3 separate regions of the Homo sapiens genome follow, and regions 1 and 2 are each linked to region 3. Evidence: promoter capture Hi-C in 16 types of primary human blood cells and fetal thymus (Javierre and others, 2016). All regions are on one chromosome and are shown on one strand. The core of a region is centred on a gene start or on the middle of the fragment in contact, and the rest is flanking DNA. Distances in the headings are between cores, read along the strand shown. Region 1 overlaps F11R (F11 receptor). Region 2 has its middle 41 kb from the start of SLAMF6. Region 3 holds the start of SLAMF7 (SLAM family member 7).

Region 1 (4,863 bases), core at 1,996-4,495, 270 kb after region 3:
CACTCCAGCCTGGGCAACAAGAAACTCCGTCTCAAAAAAAAAAAAAAAATGCTGGGCGCAGTGGCTCATGCCTGTAATCCCAGCACTTTGGGAGGCCAAGGCGGGCAGATCACCTGAGGTGGGGAGTTCGAGACCAGCTTGACCAACATGGAGAAACCTCGTCTCTACTAAAAATACAAAATTAACCAGGCGTGGTGGTGCATGCCTGTAATCCCAGCTACTCAGGAGGCTGAGGCAGGAGAATTGCTTGAACCTGGGAGGCAGAGGTTGCAGTGAGCCAAGATCGTGCCATTGCACTCCAGCCTGGCCAACAAGGGAGAAACTCTGTCTCAGAAAAGAAAAAAAAAAAAAAATCCCAGCTCTGTTACTTACTAGGCTATGTGACCTGGACAAGCCACTTGGCCTCCTCAAATCTGAGTTTACGCATCTGTAAAATGGGGATAATAACAGTTTCTACATCAAAGGGCTGTTCTGAAGGCTAAACAAGCTAATACTGTACAAATAAAGTGCTTAGAGCAGTGTCTGAACAGGAAACCCCAAATAAGTATTATATTTTATGATTATCATCATCTGTTCATAGGCCCTTCTGTACACATACTTCTTTCTGACTTCAATGTTTTCTTCAACAAGACATATAAATAAAGCCTGAAAAGTGCCTACTCCAGCCTACCAAACCATATCTCCCCTGTCATTGCAGCTGCCTTGGGAAGGCGGCCCCTTCTCTAGAACCTTCACAGCTGTACCAGCAGAGCTAGGAACTTGCTCTCACTGAATCCAATCTACATCAGGACACTCACAGTTTCCCTGTCCATCCTCCTCATCTATTTCATATTTTCCCGTGCCTCTTCACAGCCCCCCTTTTGCACTTAACCTTGGGCCCATACATACCATACTGTACACACACATGCAAATGTCCTACTGATGTACGTGGTAAACGAATAATAGAAGGAAATTCCATCCTTTCCATTGTCAAGTTTAATTTTCTCTAAGTTCACAACAAGAAAAGCCACAAAGTTAAAGGCATCAATAGATTTTGGCCTGCTTAGGTTTTGGGCCCATGTATAGAAAGTCCATTCTCCAGCCAGGCACGGTGACTCACGCCTGTAATCCCAGCACTTTGGGAGGCTGAGGCAGGCGGATCTCGAGATCAGGAGATCAAGACCATCTTGGCTAACACGGTGAAACCCCATCTCTACTAAAAATACAAAAAATTAGCCGGGCGTGGTCGCAGGCACCTGTAGTCCCTAGTCCCAGCTACTCCGGAGGCTGAAGCAGTAGAATGGCGTGAACCCGGGAGGTGGAGCTTGCAGTAAGCTGAGATGGCACCACTGCACTTCAGCCTGGGTGACAGAGCGAGACCCCGTCTCAAAAAAAAAAAAGAAAGTCCATTCTCCATTCCACTACTGGATGAAGTGCTAGCATTTATTGAGCACATACTATATTTGAGGCACTGTTGTAAGCATATTATATGTAATATCATTTAATCCCTGCAACAGCCTTTAGAGTTGGGTGATTCTATCGTTATCACCCATATTTACATGGGGAAACTGAGGCCCAGAGTAGTTAAGTAACTTGGCTAAGGCCACACAGTGAGTGGTAGTGCAGATTCACACCAATGCAGTCCAACTGCAGAGGCTATACAATGCTACACTATACTATACAGCCTTCCTAAAAATGCAAATCTGATACCTCCTTTAAGCTTTTGATGATTCTACATTGCTTATATGATAAAATCCAAATTTTTCTGCAAGCTAAGAAAGTTCCAATAATCCCTATACTCTGCCAAACGCCCACCTCCCTCTCTCCCACCAGGAAGTGCTGGAAGAAAGTTCCAGCACTATCTGACCCCTTGATAAGGTTATCATCTTCATCACCCACTCTACTGTTGCAATTTACCCTCTAGCAATACAAAACTACTTAAAATTCCTAGCAAAGTCTGGGCTGTTTCACAATCTCTGCCTTTGCTCATGCTATTTCTGCTATGTAGAACACCCTTTTCCCCCTCTTTATCTGGGCAGCAGTATTCATCCACATTATTTTCTGGAAAACGACCTCCCACATGCCCAGTCCTCACCATAGCCTCACCTAAGCCTCTTTCCTAGGCTTTAATTATCCCATGCAAAACACTGTCAAAGCAATTCCCACATTATAATGACATCATCTGTGTACAAGCATGTCTCCCATGGTAAACCCCAAGTGAAAAGGGACCATGTGTTATTTAATATTCTGAGTATCCCACACTTAGCATAATAAAACTGGTACAAGTTGACATTCAATAAATGTTTTCTCAGCCTGGGCAACACAGTGAGACCCCCATCTGTACCAAAAAAAAAAAAAAATTAATCAGCTGCAGTCATGCACGCCCATGAACGCCTATAACACTGAGGATGTAATTCCTGGAAATTACTACGTACCTGAATAATAATAATGAAACAACTGTGGCAAATAGTATTTTCCAAAACAGCCACATCTATCTATATATTTATCTCCTCCCCCATGCTCTACTTACATTGTGACTGAGGTGGAGTCTAAGTTAAGTTTCCTCCCCATGGGCCGGGTGCGGTGGCTCACGCCTATAATCCCAGCACTTTGGGAGGCCGATGTGGGTGGATTGCTTGAGGTCAGAAGTTTAAGACCAGCCGGGCCAACATGATAAAAATTACAAAAATTAGCCAGGCATGGTGCATACCTGTAGTCCCAGCTACTTGGGAGGCTGGAGAACCACTTGAGCCCAGGAGGTGGAGGCTGCAGTGAGCTGATATGGTGCCACTGTACTTAGTCTGGATGACAGAGCAAGACTCTGTCTCAAAAAAAAAGTTTCCTCCCCATGAATCTGGGAGGGTCTTATGATTGACAATGGCATAATGGTAGAAGTGGCATATTATTAATGTTAGGCCTTATATGCATTTTCTCACTAAACTCTTAAAAAAAAAAAAAACCTATGAGACAAGTACCATTGAAGATTGAAGTACTACCGTTACCATTTCATTTTACAGATGAAAAAACTGAGGCTTAGAACAGTTGACCCAGGCCAGGCATAGTGGCTCACACGTGTAATCCCAGAACTTTGAGAGTCCGAAGCAAGCGGATCACAAGGTCAGGAGTTCGAGACTAGCCTGGCCAACGTGGTGAAACCCCGTCTCTACTAAAAATACAAAAATTAGCTGGGCATGGTGGCAGGCGCCTGTAATCCCAGCGACTCAGGAGGCTAAGGCAGGAGAATTGCTTGAAGCCGAGAGGGGGAGGTTGCATTGAGCTGAGATTAAGCCACTGCACTCCAGCCTGGGTGACAGAGCGAGACTCCATCAAAAAAAAAAAAAAAACAGTTGATCCAAACCATATGGCTACAAATAGCAAGGTAGGAATCTTAACTCTGCCTGATTTTGAGGCTCTAAAACTATTATGCTATATGTAGCTTTATTGGACAAGCAAGGAAATCCCATGTATCTTTCAAGATCCTGTTCAAATGTCTATTGATCTCTTATACCTTTCCTCAGTCAAAATTAATCTCACCCCAATTTCTAGGAATATAGCCTAAGAAAGCAATCAAAGATAAGTTTAAATATTTTGGCTGGGTGCAGTGGCTCACGCCTGTAATCCCAGCACTTCGGGAGGCTGAGGCGGACGGATCACTTGAGGCCAGGAGTTTGAGACCAACCTGACCAAAATGGTGAAACCCCATCTGTACCAAAAATATAAAAATTAGCTGGGCGTGGTGGCAGGCACCTGAATCCCAGCTACTTGGTAGGCTGAGGCTTGAACCTGGGAGGTGGAGGTTGCAGTGAGCTGAGATTACGCCACTGCACTCCAGTCTGGGCGATAGAGTGGGACTCCATCTTAAAAAAAAAAAAAAAAAAAAAAATTCATGTACAAGAACAATTTAACGTTATTTAGGTTTCATTGTTCGTTTTTTTTGGAAACTGAGTCTTGCTCTGTCGCCCAGGCTGGAGTGCAGTGGCGCGATTGTGGCTCATGGCAACTTCCACCTCCCAGGTTCAAGAGATTCTCCTGCCTCAGCCTCTCCAGTAGCTGGGATTACAGGCACACACCACCATACCCAGCTAATTTTTGTACTTTTGATAGACACGGGGTTTCACCACATTGGCCAGGCTGGTCTCAAACTCCTGGCCTCAAGTGATCCGTCCGCCCCAGCCTCCCAAAGTGCTGGGATTACAGGCATGAACCACCATGCCCAGCCAATTTAATGTTATTTAGTATAACAAAGAAAAAAAAGAAATCTAAATGCCCAACAAAAGGTGAATAAGTAAATTATGATATAGCCATACTTTAGGAATAATGTAGAAAGGACCTTAAAGTATATTTTGGGCCAGGCGCGGTGGCTCACACCTGTAATCTCAACACTGAGAGGCCGAGACAGGTGGTCAGGAGTTCAGGACCAGCCTGGCCAAGATGGTGAAACCCCATCTCTACTAAAAATACAAAAAAATTAGCCAGGCGTAGTGGTGGGCACCTGTAATCCCAGCTACTTGGGAGGCTGAGGCAGAGAATTGCTGGAGCCCAGGAAGTGGAGGTTGCAGTGAGCTGAGATTGTGCCACTGCACTCCAACCTGGGTGACAGAGCGAGATTCCACCTCAAAAAAAAAAAAAAAGTATATTTTGTAGGAAATATAGACGTATCTCACACATTAATTCATAAAGACTAGAATGAAACACCAGTAATAAGTGTTTATCTCTAGATAATAGAATTACATGTGATTTTATTTTCTCCATAGTCCTTTGCATTTTCCTATTTTTCTACATGGAGCATGTATCACTTTTTTTAATAAAACAAAAAGCTTATATCTTTAAAAAGTTACTCTCTTCTCGTCTATGCTCCTAAAACATTTTGTACTTTGTTGACAG
Region 2 (4,994 bases), core at 1,489-3,988, 260 kb before region 3:
GGGGAAGTTCTCCTGGATAATATCCTGCAGAGCCTTTTCCAACTTGGTTCCATTCTCCCCATCACTTTCAGGTACACCAATGAGACGTAGATTTGGTCTTTTCACATAGTCCCATATTTCTTGGAGGCTTTGTTCATTTCTTTCTATTCTTTTTTCTCTAAACTTCTCTTCTTGCTTCATTTTATTCATTTCATCTTCCATCGCTGACACCCTTTCTTCCAGTTGATCGCATCGGCTACTGAGGCTTGTGCATTCGTTACATAGTTCTCGTGCCATGGTTTTCAGCTCCATCAGGTCCTTTAAGGACTTCTCTGCATTGGTTATTCTAGTTAGCCATTCGACTAATTTTTTTCAAGGTTTTTAACTTCTTTGCCATTGGTTCGAACTTCCTCCTTTAGCTTGGAGGAGTTTGATTTTCTGAAGCCTTCTTCTCTCCACTCATCAAAGTCATTCTCCATCCAGCTTTGTTCCATTGCTGGTGAGGAGCTGTGTTCCTTTGGATGAGGAGAGGCACTCTGATTTTTAGAGTTTCCAGTTTTTCTGCTCTGTTTTTTCCCCATCTTTGTGGTTTTATCTACCTTTGGTCTTTGATGATGGTGATGTACAGATGGGTTTTTGGTGTGGATGTCCTTTCTGTTTGTTAGTTTTCCTTCTAACAGTCAGGACCCTCAGCTGCAGGTCTGTTGGAGTTTGCTGGAGGTCCACTCCAGACCCTGTTTTCCTGGGTATCAGCAGTGGTGGCTGCAGAACAGCAGATATTGGTGAACCGCAATTGCTGCTGCTTGATTGTTCCTCTGAAAGTTTTGTGTTAGAGGAGTACCCAGCCGTGTGAGGTGTCAGTCTGCCCCTACTGGGGGAGTGCCTCCCAGTTAGGCTACTCAGGGGTCAGGGACCCACTTGAGGAGGCAGTCTGCCTGTTTTCAGATCACACGCTGCATGCTGGGAGAACCACTATTCTCTTCAAAGCTGTCAGACAGGGACATTTAAGTCTGCAGAGGTTACTGCTGCCTTTTGTTTGTCTGTGCCATGCCCCCAGAGGTGGAGCCTACAGAGGCAGGCAGGCCTTTTTGAGCTGTGGTGGGCTCCACCCAGTTCGAGCTTCCTGGCTGCTTTGTTTACTTACTCAAGCCTCGGCAATGGTGGGCACACCTCCCCCAGCCTTACTGCCACCTTGCAGTTTGATCTCAGACTGCTGTGATAGCAATGAGTGAGGCTCTGTGGGCGTAGGACCGTCCAAACCATGTGTGGGATATAATCTCCTGGTGTGCGGTTTGTTAAGCCCGTTGGAAAAGTGCAGTATTAGGGTGGGAGTGACCCGATTTTCCAGGTGCCGTCTGTCACCCCTTTCTTTGACTAGGAAAGGGAATTCCCTGACCCCTTGTACTTCCTGGGTGAGGCCATGCCTCGCCCTGCTTTGGCTCATGCACGGTGCGCTGCACCCACTGTCCTGCACCCACTGTCCAGCACTACCCAGTGAGATGAACCCGGTACCTCAGTTGGAAATGCAGAAATCACCTGTCTTCTGCATTGCTCACGCTGTGAGCTGTAGACTGGAGCTGTTCCTATTCGGCCATCTTGGCTGCCCCTCTATTTCCTCCTGTGTCTTAAATTGCCATGAATTCACCTTGTGTTTTAAGTTGCCATGAATTCACCTTGTGTTTTGGATTGTTGTTGGATCCTGAGAGGGATGTTCTACTTTCCTTGGGTCATTAGAAGTCAAAGGGAGAATGAAAAACAGAATTTAAGGTGATTACGAGACATCCAGGAAAATATCCAGTCAGCAGAACCTAGGGAAACAAATCTAATTATGGGACATAAATAATAAGAGAAACCAAGCTAAGGAGAGGTAAGGAGGAGACAGAAAGACAAAAGTAGGATGAGGTGACTTAATGGGCATTAAAAGGAGGGAAACCTCAAGGGTGATGGGGGGATTGTGTAATGTCAAATGCTGCAGAGAGCACCAGAATGCAGAGAAAAGATCCCTGCCTCTAGAGGTTGGTATCCTTCAAGAATGCAGCTTCAGAAGAGTGGGCTAGGGGTGAGGAAGCAAAAGCTTTGGATGTGGCCATTCTAGTCGTCTGGTAGTAAAAGGTCAGTGATGATGTCCCCTTCCTTTCTTCCCACAGAGAGTGCTTTTAGATGGCCTCTGGGAAGGGGAAATTCAGGGGGTCAGACTTGCTCCCTCCCCATTTGAGAAGTCACTTCTTAGTCCATTCTTTTCATCAACTTGAAACTCAGGGTGAAATGTCTATCCAGTGACCTTGGACAGGGTAGCCTTCTCTCTGTTCTGCATCTAGCTGTGGCCCTGCTTCCTCATATCAAAGTATACACTGAACCCTGAGGGAGGCTAAATGATGAAAGCTTCAAGTAAGTGTCCTAAAGCTACACGGGGTTCAGGTGTTGGCTTGAGGGTGGGATGGGGTGTGGACAAGTGAGATCAGACATTGTTATTTTGGGACTAGTTAATGTGCTCTTTTGACCAACATGATGTGGGGCAAAGCTTCATGGTGTAGGTAAGAGGTTGGAAACTTAACTATTTTCAGTACTAGGTAGGTATCTTAAGTGAGTGAAGCAGGCAGGGCAGGCCAGGAGTGAAATGTGAAGTGCAAGCCCCATTTAGAATAGAACAGAGGCTACTCAGCACCAGCTAATTGTTGCCTCATAGGGATGTGGTCCCAGTATCCATAAGGCACAGAAGTAGGAAGGAGAGTCTAGATTATTCTAGGAGCTGAATAAAGAACAGTGTGGCTGGAATGCTGTGAAAGAAGGAGTAGAGATGTGAGTAGGGGTCTTGTAGGCCTTGTCAACACTTTGTGACCTCCTAGTGGGAATGACTGGGGGCTGGCAGAGTGGGAAGAGTATTTCTATTCCCTTTTATTACCTTTCCAGGATAGCCAATCACAGCCATCTTACCTTATTCAAAGTAGTTTAATGGGGCTACCATTTCCTTAATTCTACAATAAAAATATTAAAGAACAAGCTTACCTCCTGGGCAAAGAAAGTTTGTTTTTTGGTAGGAATTTTATAAGCATTGCATGTTTTCTTCCCTGCTTGCAAAATGCATGATTCATCTTTTAGGAATGGGGCATCTGGGTCTTAATGTATTTAACTTTAGAACAATAGATTAGGTTTTTGTTGATTAAATCCATTTGTTTCCCACAAGAAAACAAAAATGATTAGTTATATGGTGAGTACTGGGTAGTTTTCAGTTTTGTAAAGGAGATCTGTTCAAGAGTGTCCCATAACAATGATACCATTTACTGATATGAAAAAGCATAGTAGAAGAAAAGGCTTGATAAGAGAAATCAAGAGGTTTGATTTTTTTTTTTTGACAGAGTCTCACTCTGTTGCCCAGGCTGGAGTGCAGTGGCATGATCTTGGCTCACTGCAACCTCCGCCTCCTGGTTTCAAGTGATTCTCCTGCCTCAGCCTCCTGAGTACCTGGGATTACAGGCACCCAACATCACACCCGGCTAATTTTTGTATTTTTAGTAGAGACCGGGTTTCACCATGTTGGCCAGACTGGTCTCGAACTCCTGACTTCAAGTGAGCCACCTGCCTCGGCCTCCCAAAGTGCTGGGATTACAGGCATGAGCCACCACATCTGCCCAAGAGTTTTTATTTTTTAAAAAACTTTGATATATCTACCAGATATGCAAATGGTGATGCCAAGTAGGCAGTTAATGAGGTAAGCCAGGAGGTCAGGACTAAAGATGTGTTTGGGAACCATTAGCTTATAAAGGCTATTAAGGCAATAGGAATGGCTGACATCAGATAAGAAGAGTACTTAGATGGAGAAGTGAATGGGACCCACATGTGAGCCTTAGCTTCAGTCTTTACTGGTCCTGTGGAGGAGGCAGTGGATCTGCAAAGAGCCTGAGAAGCAGCTAGGAAGGAAGGAGTAAAACTCGGGGAATGTAGTGTCACAGAAGCCAAGAGAAGAGAGTGTGGTATTTATGATAAAAAGGGAGAAGGTTGAAGAGATTGAAAGAAATATAACATCAGGAATTCTATGTTTTAGTAGCTGGTCTATAAAGACAAGTGAGCTTAGCTTTCTTATGAGTTCTTTTCTTACTCACCTCTTAGATGTCTATAGATACGCCCTTAGTTTTTGTTTTGTTTGTGATCCTCCCCAGTGCAGTCCAGATTCAGGGTAGATTCTGGTAGATTTCTGACTAGATGGATTAGTTGTGCCTTCCATGACATATCCCCTAATTTTCTTGCTGGTTTTGGGCACCCTAGATGTTGCAAATATTTTTCTATCTGCACTGACTTTACAGATTATTCCTTTTCCCTCTCTGAAGAACCTTGGAATTCTTCAAAGTTTCCACACACACAAAAAAAGCTTTATATATATATATATATATATATATATATATATTTTTTTTTTTTTTTTTTTTTTTTTTTTTTTGGGTCCCCTTGAAAGGAAAGCACTCTCTTACCTGCCCAGTGAGATTTCCTGAGCTTCAGGTCATGTTGCACGAACATGGCAGTAACCCTCTTTTTACTCTTTTCTTTGAAGTCTCCATGAACCCAGAACCTATTCCTTGGAAACTCTTCCTTCTTCTTGATTAAGCTTCCCTATCTTGTCCTACTCCACTGACTAATACTGTAATTGATGGCTGGTATTTGAGATTAATTAACTTTGATGAGCTTTGTTTTTTTCTATTCTTTTCAGCCATTATTTCAGTTTTTCCCCATTCCAACTCTCCAACCCCTTCCCTTTGAATCCTGTGGTCTTGAGAGCTGATCTCTGTCACGTCTTGTTGTGCTGAAGGTTTGTGAGATGATTCTGTGTAATTCAGTAATAATTAATTTTTACTATTATTAATTTATACTAATTGTATCAGTAATTATACCAACAATGCTGACTGACATTTATTGAGCTCCTTTATGTGGCTGAGAGCTATGCTAAGGACTCCAGGTGTATTGTCTTATTTCATTTTCACAAAACCCCATTACATATTCATTTATTTATTAAAAAATTTTTTTGA
Region 3 (4,870 bases), core at 2,371-4,870:
CTCTGGACATGAGGAATGACATGACAATGAGTTACCCGTGTTTTCTTTTTGTCCCCTGTGTATTGTAGGCCATGTGCTAGATAAGAATATAATCTAGAAACGCCAATCCCAAGGATTTTCTGTTCTCTCCTGCCAAAAGACTGGAAAGGGGACTGCTGGAATAGAAGCCTTTAAACAATAATCACCATATTCTAGCCAAACATCATGTGGAAATATGGGACACCACCCCCCCGCCAACAGCAAAGGCCAAGTGGAAAACCTATATTTAAACCCCCCACCCCACCCCTTGGCAGTAAGGAATCATCCCTCCCCACTCCCCACTCCCCACTGGGGTGGCATCAGAAGAGGCTAAGTAGGAAGACTGAACATGCACTCCCTCCCTGAAGCAATGAGGCACTCCTCCCAATTCTTGCTTTGGGTGGTGTCAGAAAAGGCCAAATGGAGGGTCTGGATTTTTACCACTGCTCAGCAGTAATGTGGTCCCCTACCTTATCATCACTGTGTCAAAAATCACTCATCATAACAAGAACCAGGACAATCTTGACTTGAATGAACAAAAGGCAATCAACAGACACCAAAACCAAGACAACACAGACGTTAGAATTATCTTACAAGGATTTTAAAGAAACCATAGTAAAAATGCTTCAACTAGCAGCTATGAACACATTTAAAACAAATAAACAAAAAAACTAGAAAGTCTTTAAAAAAAGAGTAGAAGATATAAAGAAGAACCAAAGGGAAATTTTAGAATTGAATAATACAATGACTGAAAGGTAAAACTAATTGAATGAGTTTAATGAGCTTAATAGCAAAATGGAGGCCAGGGCCAGTGGCTCATACTGGCAATCCCAGCACTTGGGGAGGCCAAGGTGGGCGGATCACCTGAGGTCAAGAGTACAAGACCAGCCTGGCCAACATGGCAAAACTCTGTCGCTACCAAAATATAAAAATTAGCCAGGTGTGGTGGCGGGTGCCAGTAATCCCAGCTACTTAGGAGGCTGAGGCAGGAGAATCGCTTGAGCCCAGGAGACAGAGGTTGCAGTGAGCTGAGATCGTGCACTCCAGCCTGGGCAACAGAGTGAGACTCTGTCTCAGAAAAAATAAAAAAATAAAAAATTGCAAAATGGAGATGAAAAAGGAAAGAATCAGTGTACTTGAAGATAAACAATAGAAAATACCCAATCTGAAAACAGAGTGAAAATAGGCCAAAAAAAAAAAAAAAAAAAAAAAAAAATGGAGCCTCAGAGCCCTGTGGGAGAAAAACAAAAGATTTATAACATTCATGTCATCAGAATTTTAGGAGAGAAGCGAGAATGTGAGGCTGAAAAAAAAGTATTCAAAAAATAATGAAATTTCCCCAAACTTAGCAAAAGGTAAAAACCTACAGATTCAAGAGACTCAATGAATCACAAATAAGAGAAACCCAAAGAAATTCACACCAAGACACATTATAATCACACTTCTGAAAACTAAAGACAAACAAAAAACTTTTAAAACAGCTAGAGAAAAATGACACATTACCTACAGGGAAAACAACTTAAATGACGGCTGATTTCTCACTGGAAACCATGGAGGGGAGGAGTGTCATGACACTTTTCAAGTGTTGAAAGAAAAAAAACTGTCAACCTAGAATTTTATACCCAGGAATGAGGGTTAAATCAAGACATTCTCAGGTGAAGGAAAACTAAGATAATTTGTTATCAGCAGGCTTATCATAAAAGAATTCCTAAAGAATATCTTGAAACAGAAAGAAATGATTAAAGAAGAAAACTTGAAGGCTGGGTGTGGTGGCTCATACCTGTAATCCCAGCACTTTGGGAGGCCAAAGTTGGTGGATCACCTGAGGTCAGGAGTTTGAGACTAGCCTGGCCAACATGGCGAAACCTGATCTCTACTAAAAGTACAAAAAGTAGGTGGGCATGGTGGCATGAGCCTGTAGTCCCAGCTACTCAGGAGGCTGAGGCAGGAGAATCGCTTGAACCCAGGAGGCGGAGATTGCAGTGAGCCAAGATCATGCCACTACACTCCAGCCTGTATGACAGAGCAAGACTTCGTCCAAAAAAAAATAAAAAGAAGGAAACTTGAAACATTAGAAATAAAGAAATAACAATGAAAAGAGTTAAAATATGGGTAAATGTAATGGATTGTCCTTCTCCTCTTGAGTGTTCTGAATTATGTTCAACAATTGAAGCAAAACTTATAATCTTACCGATATGGTTCTCAATGAATATAGACAATATATTTAAGACAAGTATAAAGATAGACTAATAAAGAAACCTAATATAGGTAAGTTTTCTATACCTAGTTCAACTGGTAAAATGTCAACACTGATAGGTAGATCAAAAGTTATGTATGTAAAATGCAATATGTACAGCAACCAGTAAAAAAACTCTTCAAAAAGATACATTATAGATAAATCAAAATGGAATTATAAAAAATATTCCAGTAACACACAGGATGGCCAGGAAAGTGAAACAGAGGAACAAAATAAACAAACAAAAGCCCAGAAGAACAAAGAGAAAATAATAACATGGCAAACTTAAGCTCTGATATATAAATAATTACATTATGTAAGTCAGTTAAATAGAATAGATAGCTCCAGAATATACCCACACAAGTATAAGTGCTGATTTTTGATAAAGATACAAAAGTAATTCAATGTAGGAAAGATCATCTTTTCCATCACATGGTAGTAGAACAATTGAACACCCACAGGCAGAAGAAAAAAAAACACGCACATTGTAATCATACTTCTGAAAACCAAAGGCAAACAAAAAACTTTTAAAACAGCTAGAGAAAAATGACACATTACCTATAGGGAAAACAATTTAAATGATGGCTGATTTCTCACTGGAAACCATGGAGGGGAGGAGTGTCATGACACTTTTCAAGTGTCGAAAGCAAAAAAAAACTGTCAACCATATTACCTGATATGGTTCTCAATGAATATAGACAATATATTTAGGTGAATCTCAACCTAAACTTCACACCTTACATTAAAACAGGATCATACATTTAAATGTAAAACATAAAACTATAAAACTTTCAGGAGAAAACCTTTGGACCCTAGTGTGGGTAGAAAAAAAACTGATAAGTTGAATTTCATCAAAATTAAAATTTTTGCTCTGCCAAAGACCCCGTTAAGAAGATGAAAAGACAGGCTACAGACCAAGAGAAAATATTTGTAAACCACATATCTGACAAATGACTCTTATACTTGGAACATATAAGGAATTGTCAAAGCTCAACAGTAAAAAAAATAAAGAATCTGATTATAAAATGGACAAAAGACATAAATAGACATTTCACCAAGGAGGATATGGATATATAGATGGCAAATAAGCACATGAAAAGATGTTCAACATTATTAGGCTTTAGGGAAATGCAAATTAAAGCCACAATGAGGTATCACTACAGCACCTATTAAAACAGCTAAAATATAAAATGGGAATATACCAAATGCTGATGAAGATGGGGAGCAAATAGATCTCTCATAGATTGCTGGTGGCAAGGTAAAATGCTCTATTCACTCTGAAAATAATTTAGCAATTACTCAATCTCACATGTCTGCGGCGTGACCCCTCCTGCTTCTTTAAATATCAGCTGGGGAAGAGGTCTGAGTAATACCTAAGAGGGAAGTGGCTTCATTTCAGTGGCTGACTTCCAGAGAGCAATATGGCTGGTTCCCCAACATGCCTCACCCTCATCTATATCCTTTGGCAGCTCACAGGTGAGTCCGGCCGGATTCTCTTCCACTCTCCTGTCTACCCCATCCTGAATAGTTCCAGGTTTCTTGTTCCACTCTGGGCCTCTGGCTCAACTCGGGAGGCTCTGTGTTCTCATCTAACATTTGCTTTTTATCAATCTCTGATCTCTGATTCTCAGGTCAGGAAGAGACTAGAGAGAGGGGGAAAAATGGCTCTGGGAACTGACTCCCCTGTTGACTGTCCCAGGGATGAAGGAGCTGAAAGAAGTGGTGCTGGGTATCAGAGACCATTTTTCTAATCCAGGTTCTGCCATGAGTTAGATAAGGAATGTTAAAGTTTTCCTGGGCCTCAGAAACTTTATCTTCTAGCCTTCTCTCCTTTTGAGGGCAACTTTAAGAACAAGATGATACTATACAGGTATGTATTTATTTACTTATAAATGTATTTATAAAATTGGTTATGCATAACAGTAATATAAATGGAAAGAATCACTTGAATTTTCTTTCCTTACTCAAGCAATGTAATCAGTCTCTACTTAGAGAACCAACTCATACCATAGGCACTTTATGTTTAATCCCATGGAGGACAGAGGACAGTTCTCCACCTGTCACTGGTATTCTAGTCTTTGAAGATTTTTCTATCCTAAGGGCTCTCAGAAAGGATCAGGAGCCCTATAAGTGAGAAATATCTCTTCTGTCATCAATCTCATGGAGTACTACCATGAGGTCCCCCTATAAGGACTTCACATAACTGCTTCATTATGTGTATCTGAGCCTGCCTGGAGTGATCTGCCCAAGACCACGCAGGCAGCTGGTGCCCCCAATATTTTCCCCTGCATCGCTAAGTGGTCAGCATCAGCAGACTCTTACCCACTTTGAATTCATCAGAAGTTTGTATTTTTGAGAGGTACCTGGGTCTAACCAGGTGGTTCTGGAATAGGCCCTCACTTTAAAAAAAAAAAACAAAAAAAAAACTCCCTGAACGGAAATGATGAGCAGAAATAGAACTTGAGGGAGATAAGGTGGAGGGGTTGGGGAAAATTATAGAGACTTTGAAAGCTACAGGTGTCCATCTGAAATCAGTCAGCGAAAGAGCACAAGTATGAAAAACTGCCATGCAGGTCCCCCTCTGCCCTCCTCCAGAGGCAGCCTGTGTAGTGTACC

What was found. Contacts are between HindIII fragments. The CHiCAGO score rates a contact against its expected background, and 5 or more counts as called.
Region 1: a fragment that was not itself captured here is called in contact with the fragment with the promoter of SLAMF7 in region 3 in 3 of 17 cell types (total B cells, fetal thymus and activated CD4 T cells); the score reaches 7.0 in total B cells.
Region 2: a fragment that was not itself captured here is called in contact with the fragment with the promoter of SLAMF7 in region 3 in 1 of 17 cell types (non-activated CD4 T cells); the score reaches 5.9 in non-activated CD4 T cells.

What each region holds. Positions count from the first base shown.
Region 1 is chr1:161,007,135-161,011,997 of GRCh38, forward strand. All of the region lies in intron 1 of F11R (F11 receptor), which reads right to left. Among named protein-coding and RNA genes, the nearest start is that of F11R, 12 kb to the right of the region's middle. RefSeq lists an enhancer at 1-385. The HindIII fragment of the contact is 3,097 bases long and covers 1,698-4,794 here.
Region 2 is chr1:160,479,864-160,484,857 of GRCh38, forward strand. No RefSeq gene overlaps it. Among named protein-coding and RNA genes, the nearest start is that of SLAMF6, 41 kb to the right of the region's middle. The HindIII fragment of the contact is 480 bases long and covers 2,499-2,978 here.
Region 3 is chr1:160,735,627-160,740,496 of GRCh38, forward strand. It overlaps SLAMF7 (SLAM family member 7), which reads left to right and starts at 3,621. Exons shown (of 7, transcript NM_021181.5): 1 at 3,621-3,730. The coding sequence starts at 3,676. LOC124904440 (a long non-coding RNA gene) reads right to left here and starts at 3,533. Exons shown (of 2, transcript XR_007066687.1): 1 at 3,457-3,533. The HindIII fragment of the contact is 11,353 bases long and covers 1-4,870 here.